Regions from separate parts of the Homo sapiens genome. Here region 2 is linked to region 1. The links are contacts of gene promoters, found by promoter capture Hi-C in blood cells and fetal thymus (Javierre and others, 2016). All regions are on one chromosome and are shown on one strand. Each heading gives the region's core, a stretch centred on a gene start or on the middle of the fragment in contact. The rest is flanking DNA. Distances are from core to core; before and after follow the strand shown.

Evidence for each region. Contacts are between HindIII fragments. The CHiCAGO score rates a contact against its expected background, and 5 or more counts as called.
Region 2: a fragment that was not itself captured here is called in contact with the fragment with the promoter of CLEC10A in region 1 in 2 of 17 cell types (monocytes and M1 macrophages); the score reaches 6.6 in monocytes.

What each region holds. Positions count from the first base shown.
Region 1 is chr17:7,078,975-7,082,611 of GRCh38, reverse strand. CLEC10A (C-type lectin domain containing 10A) reads left to right here and starts at 2,361. Exons shown (of 9, transcript NM_001330070.2): 1 at 2,361-2,560. The HindIII fragment of the contact is 6,420 bases long and covers 524-3,637 here.
Region 2 is chr17:7,159,340-7,162,928 of GRCh38, reverse strand. No RefSeq gene overlaps it. Among named protein-coding and RNA genes, the nearest start is that of ASGR1, 18 kb to the left of the region's middle. The HindIII fragment of the contact is 566 bases long and covers 1,443-2,008 here.

The sequences.
Region 1 (3,637 bases), core at 1,112-3,611:
CAATAAGTACTCAAATGGATGAATAAATGTGTATAAGAGTGATTGGACGTATGTTTATTGCAGAACTATTTACAATAGGAAAGACTTGGAACCAACCCAAATGCCCATCAATGATAGACTGGATAAGGAAATTGTGGCACATATACACCATGGAATACTATGCAGCCATAAAAAAGAATGAGTTCATGTCCTTTGCAGGGACATAGATGAAGCTGGAAACCATCATTCTCAGCAAAGTAACACAGGAACAGAACACCAAACACCGCATGTTCTCACTCATAACCGGGAGCTGAACAATGAGAACACATGGATACAGGGAGGGGAACATCACACACCAGGGTCTGTCAGGGGGTGGGCGGCAAGGGGAGGGAGAGCATTAGGACAAATACCTAATGTATGCGGGCCTTAAAACCTAGGTGATGGGTTGATAGGTGCAGCAAACCACCATGGCACACGTATACCTACGTAACAAACCTGCACATTCTGCACATGTATCCCAGAACTAAAAAAAAAAAAAGAAGCTTCAAACCCACTGAACCAGACTGAAAAAAAAAAGTTAGTGAATGGAGAAATATCATGTTCTTTTCATGGAAGATTCAACAATGTCAAAATGTTGATTATCTCCAAATTAATATGTGAATACACTGCAAGACTGTGGTAGACACACAGAGAGCTACCCAGGTCCCCCTTCTAGGAAGGATGTGGTGACCCACTGTGGGGAGTGTAACCTGCAGACAGCTGCTTCCTGAGGTCACACCCATGTCAGGGCTGACTGCCAGTGACCGAAGGAGCTGGTGCTCTACAGGACCCTGTGGCAGTCCAATGCTGGACAGCTCCCGGGGGTGGCATTGTTTGAACCCAGAGCTCCCTGTTGGTTTGGTTGAAGCTCTCCAAAGTGCTGGGCTTCTCCCTCTGCCCAGCACCATTTCATCCACTTTCCTTTTCGAAGTGCTAATCCCTAATAAATAGCTTGTACCCCAAATTCAGCCTCAACCTTGGCTTCCAAAAACCGAACCTGCGACATATACTAATCAAAATACCGAATACCAAATAAAAACAAAACTGGCAACGACCTGGCCGGGTGCGGTGGCTCGCGCCTGTAATCCCTGCACTTTGGGAGGCTGAGGCGGGCAGATCATGTGAGGTCAGGAGGTCAAGACCAGCCTGGCCAATATGGTGAAACCCCTCTCTACTAAAAATACAAGAATTAGCTGGGTGTGGTGGCGGGACCTGTAATCTCGGCTACTCGGGAGGCTGAGGCAGGAGAATCGCTTAAACCCAGGAGATGCAGTAGCCGAGATTGTGTCACTGCACTCCAGCCTGGGCAACAGAGTGAGACTCTGTCTCAAAAAAATAAATAAATAAATAAAATAAAAAAGAAAAGAAAAAGAAACAACTTAAATTTCTGATTTATTTCTGTCAATAGAGAAATGCTAAATAAATAAATTACGGTGCCTATGATGAAATGAGGTGCAGGTAGATCAAGTACATTTTATAAACTGATGTGGAGAAATGTTCCTGATAGCTTGTTAACTCCAAAAAAAAAAAAAAAAAGCACATAGCAGAACACAACCCCATGTACATACAAAATATAACCTAAAATGTATTTCTTCTCCTTCTCCACCTTGTAAGATACTCAGTTTCCTTCCTACTGAAAGGGATGTGCGCGTGGATTCAGGGCAGCTCCCTTAGGGGTTGAGCAGGGATCATGGGATGAAATGGAATCCTGTTCATGAAGACAGCGCCTGTGCTGAGAGCCAGAGCAGGGTGCCAAACTGTCTCCTTACAAGCTGTGAGTGATCTTGGGCTCTGAGCCTTTAGTCCGTCATCCAAAATGCCTCCCCAGGTGCTTGGGGGGAATGGTTGTGGAAGGTAAATGTCTGGCATAATCCTATCACAGATTACTCAATAAAATTTGCTCTTTTCCTTGGCTTCTCCCGTCCTATTAGGGCCAAGAAGTTCTATTCTCTGGCACCCCCTTCCCTCCTTCCGAGTGGAGTGAGGCGAGCGAGGCCACAGCTGAGCAGCCGAATGACTGGGACCCAGAGGATGCTGATGCCAGGGACTCAGGCCAGGATTGAGCAAGAGAACAGACTGGGCTTCTCTAGGATCAGAGGTGCGATGATGGAGACCCAACAATTCTGGGAAATGTAGAGGCAGGAAGTGAAAGGAAGTGTAGGGTAGAGGAGCAACAGCAGATTGTACCTCTGATCCAGCCCTGCTCCCAGATGGTAAAAATGAGGAAGCTCCGAGAAGAGGAAAGGAAGTAGGCATGGCCTGGAGGAGGAGAACAGAGCTGGCCTCAAACCCAACTCTCCCCACCCACACATGGTCTCTGTGTGTTCTAATCCCTGTTCATTCTCATTTACTGTCTAAAGTTGAGGAGATGGGATGTCCCAGATGATAGGGCTCCTGGGATTTCAGACCCAAGACCAGCAGGACTCCAGTCACCTCTACCCCAGCTCTCCAGGACACAGCGCTCCCAACTCTGAGTGACGTCCCACCTCTGGTCCTTGCAGCACAACCAACGTGGGAATCACACCCTCCAGACCTCCCACAGGTAATGGTGCTGCCGGTGCCGGTGAGACCCAGGGGACAGGGGATGTCAGAGGAAGCAGGGAGAGGGGGACTTTGGGTCTTGGGTGGGACTAAATGAAAATAAATATAAGGCGGCAGTGTGGGGTTTAATTACTACGTGGAGATTTGAGACTCTGTTCCCTTCACTGGATTCTAGATTGGGTTACGGCAGCCACAATCCCCTGTCATAAACTAAGACTCCGGGAGCTGAGGCAGGAGAATCTTGTGAACCCAGGAGGCAGAGGTTGCAGTGAGCCGAGACGGCCTCGTTGCACAACAGCCTGGGCGACAAGAACGAAATTCCATCTCAAAAAATAAATAAATAAAAATAAAAATAAACTAAGACTCAGACTCAGCCTCATTGGTGGCCCATTTCCAGCCTTATCTTCATCTCAGCCCAGCCATGCCCTAATCCCAATACTAACCCCAGCTTCTACATTTTCTTTTTTTTTGAGACTGAGTCTCACTGTGTCGTCCAGGCTGGAGTGCAACGGCACAACCTCGGCTCACTGCCACCTCTGCCTCCTGGGTTCAAGTGATTCTCCTGCCTCAGCCTCCCAAGTAGCTGGGATTACAGGCGCACACCACCACACCCAGCTAATTTTTGTATTTTTAGTAGAGATGGGGTTTCACCATGTTGGCCAGGCCGGTCTCAAACTCCTGACCTAAAGTGATCTGTCTGCTTCGGTCTCCCAAAGTGCTGGGATTTATAGGCGTGAGCCACCGCACCTGTCGCCCCCCACCCAGCTCCTACTTCAACCCCAACCCCAGAATCAACTTGAATTTTAACACCAGCCCAAAGCCAAAATTGAACCTCGACTCTATTCTGTTTCCAAATTCACCACCAAAGTTAACCCCAATTCCATCCATGGCTCCAACGTGCATACTGACCCCAATCCTAGCATGAGATACAACCTCCAGTCCTGCCTGATTAACTGGCCCACTGGGTAGTCCTAGCAATGCGTTTAGCTCCAACGTTACCCTCCAGTTTCACTCCCAAACTCAACTCGACCCCAATTCTAACTCGACTGCAAACCCAGGCTCATTTCCGTCTTAACCC
Region 2 (3,589 bases), core at 476-2,975, 81 kb before region 1:
AATATTTCCACTAAACACAGGATCAAGAGAAGGAACTCATTGTCACAGTAGTTCTGAAGGTCGATCCTGAGAAGAAAATCAGAATAAAAAGATGAGGAAGGAGGAGGTCAGTTTTTGTACATTTGCGGACACTATGTACTTACTATTGTGATGCGGTAGGGACGCCACAGCACCGCCTGCGCGACGTTGTTGTCAGAGAACCTTGAACTGAATCTGGTTAGCAGTAACTACCAGCTTATTGGAAATGCAGTGGGAGGGGAACATCCACACAGGCATGCATGCCGTCAGATCCAGAAGGCGGAAGATTTTACAGCCAACTTATGCTTTCTTCAACAACGAAAAAAAATGGTAAGAAACAAAAAAAAGAGGGGCCAGGTGCAGTGGCTCACGCCTGTAATCCTAGTACTTTGGGAGGCTGAGGCAGGGAGATCACTTGAGCTCAGGAGTTCGAGACCAGCCTGGGCAACAACCCTGTCTCTGCAAGAAATACAAAAATTAGTTGGGCGTGGTGGCGTGTGCTTGTAGTCCCAGCTACTCTGGAGGCTGAGGTGGGAGGATCACCTGAGCCAAGAAATGTCAAAGCTGCAGTGAGCCGTGATTGCACCACTGCACTCCAGCCTGGGCAACAGAGTGAGACCCTGTCTAAAAAAAAAAAAAAAAAAAAGCAATAGACTTAGATGAAATATTTGCAATATTTATAACAGTTAATTAATATCCAGACTATAAAGAACCCCTACACAATGACAAGAAAAAAACAACAACAACCCATTGGAGAAATGGGCAAAGAATATTATAGTAAACATTCATGATTTGTATTTTAGAGAGCCCCTTATAATGTGCATACTTCAGGGGGCACCAGTAGCCACAGAACCGAATTCTTCATCTCTCCCCCACCCCCCAGTGTAGCAGGAGGGGGGTGGCATGTGCCATGGGTATCACCCACCTGGCAATCTCTCCCAGAACATTGAGTCTTGAGTGTATGATGCAAATTTGTAGAAATAGTTGGGAGGTCATGTGTAAGAATTTTTTTTTTTTTTTTTTTTGAGATGGAGTTCCACTCTGTCGCCCAGGCTGGAGTGCAGTGGCTCAATCTCGGCTCACTGCAACCTCCGCCTCCCAGGTTCAAGCAATTCTCCTGCCTCAGCCTCCCGAGTGGCTGGGATTACAGGCGCCTGCCACCACGCCTGGCTAATTTTTTGTATTTTTAGTAGAGACACGGTTTCACCGTGTTGGCCAGGCTGGTCTTGAACTCCTGACCTCAGGTGATCCGCCCGCCTTGGCCTCCCAAAGTTCTGGAATTACAGGTGCGAACCACTGGGCCTGGCCCGAATCTTCTTCTTTATTGCTTCAAGTTAACTGTGCTTGGGGGATAAAGGGAGGAGTCTGAATTTGTGGTGAGGCAGATAGGGGGACACTGCAGTACTTTGAAGGAGTTACAAGCTTCTTAGAGGTATTAGAGAGAGGTTCCACACCTAAGGCTGAAGAATGCAGGGTTACAGCAGGACCCGTGTGTGTGTGTGTGTGGGGTGGGGGGGGCGGTGTGTGTCTACTCCAGGCCAGACTGGTCCCAGCTCTGCTCAACAGCTATGTAGAGTGAGTGTGATATTTCTTGGCAATGGGGAAACCAACTGGTTCAAGTGATTCTCCTATAAAACTCAATTGCCTCACTATGAGCCAGAATCCCATAGGAGGTCTGCCTTAGTTTGGGTGTCTCCCAAAAGCAGAGCCTGAGAGAAGGACTTGAGGAAGATAGTTTTCTTGGGAGCTGATCCCAGAAAGCAGGAGTGAAAAAGAGGAGGGAGTGAGACGGGGAAGGAGGCAAGCCCAATCGGGGTGCATTGTCAAGGCTGCTGCACATTTTGGGTGATGGGGCTCACCAGCATCTCCAAGCATACAGAATGGTTGATCTGAAGGAGGGGTGGCTGGAGGATTTACCCACCAGCTTCCATTCCCCGTGGGCATGAACTCCCCAGCAGGTCTGAGCTGTGCTGTATTGGCTGAGCAAGCTTCTATTGGTGCTAGAGAAAGCCCTGGGGCAGAGAGTGTGGCTCATGCTTGAGGAGGGGTATTTTCAGCACAAGGACCTGGTTGAGTTCTGATGGAACTGTCTACTTTTGTTGTGGCTGAAATCAGCGGGTCAAGGGGGTGCAACGTGGGACACCAGAGGTGCCTACTGTAAGACCCCACACCCAATCTCCAGTAAGAATCTGGGAATGCACAATAGCAACCAAACCATAAAACACCCAAGAATGAACTGAAGAAACGTGTGAGATGTGGATGAGAACAACCATAACACTCTAATGGGCCGGGCGCGGTGGCTCACGCCTGTAATCCCAGCACTTTAGAAGGCCGAGGCGGGCGGATCACGAGGTCAGGAGATCGAGACCATCCTGGCTAACACGGTGAAACCCCATCTCTACTAAAAATATTTTAAAAAATAGCCAGGCGTGGTGGCGGGCGCCTGTAGTCCCAGCTACTCGGGAGGCTGAGGCAGGAGAATGGCACGAATCCGGGAGGCGGAGCTTGCAGTGATGGCGCCACTGCACTCCAGCCTGGGCGACAGAGCGAGACTCCATCTCAAAAAAAAAAAACAAAACAAAAAAACAACTATAATGAAGGCCATAAAAATACTTCATATAGTCAACTTGACTATGACGTCTCCATATTGCTATGATGTCAAGTTTCCCTAGATTGAGCTATAAATTCAAGGTTATGCAAATGAAAATTCCTGGGCAATGTATTTTTGCAATTGGACAAAATGAGCCTAAATTCATCTAGAAGACTAAACATGTGAGAGTAGCCAGCAGAAAAAATTTAAAAGAACAATAATAAGGGGACTTGTCCTATCAGATGTTAAAATATATCATAGGTTGAAGGGGGCCTACCCCTCCACACCTGTGAGTATTTCTCCCAAGGTGGAGATGAGAGACTGAGAAAAGAAATAAGACACAGAGACAAAGTATAGAGGAAGAAAAGTGGGCCCAGGGGACTGGCACTCAGCAAGTGAAGACCTGCACCTGCGCTGGTCTCTGAGTTCCCTCAGTATTTATTGATCACTATCTTTACTATCTCGGCGAGGGGAATGCGGTGTGACTATAGGGTGATGGTGGGGAGAGGGTCAGTAGGAAAACACGTGAACAAAAGACTCTGTGTCATAAATAAGTTTAAGGAAAGGTGCTGTGCCTGGATGTGCACGTAGGCTACATTTATATTTAACTTTACATGAACATCTCAGAGCAGTAAAGAGTAACAGAGCAGTACTGCCACCATGATGTCTCGCCTCCAGCCATAAGGCGGTTTTCTCCTATCTCAGAATAGAATGTATGCTCGGTTTTACACCGAGTCATTCCATTCCCAGGGACGTGCAGGAGACAGATGCTTTCCTCTTAACCTCATAGAGGCCTTCCTCTTTCACTACTCCTCCTCAGCACAGACCCTTTACGGGTGTCGGGCTGGGGGATGTAAGGTCTTTCCTTTCCCAGGAGGCCATATCTCAGGCTATCTCCGTGGGGGGAAACCTGGACGATACTCAGGCTTTCTTGGGCAGGGGTCCCTGCAGCCTTCCGCGGTGCATTGTGTCTCTGGTTAA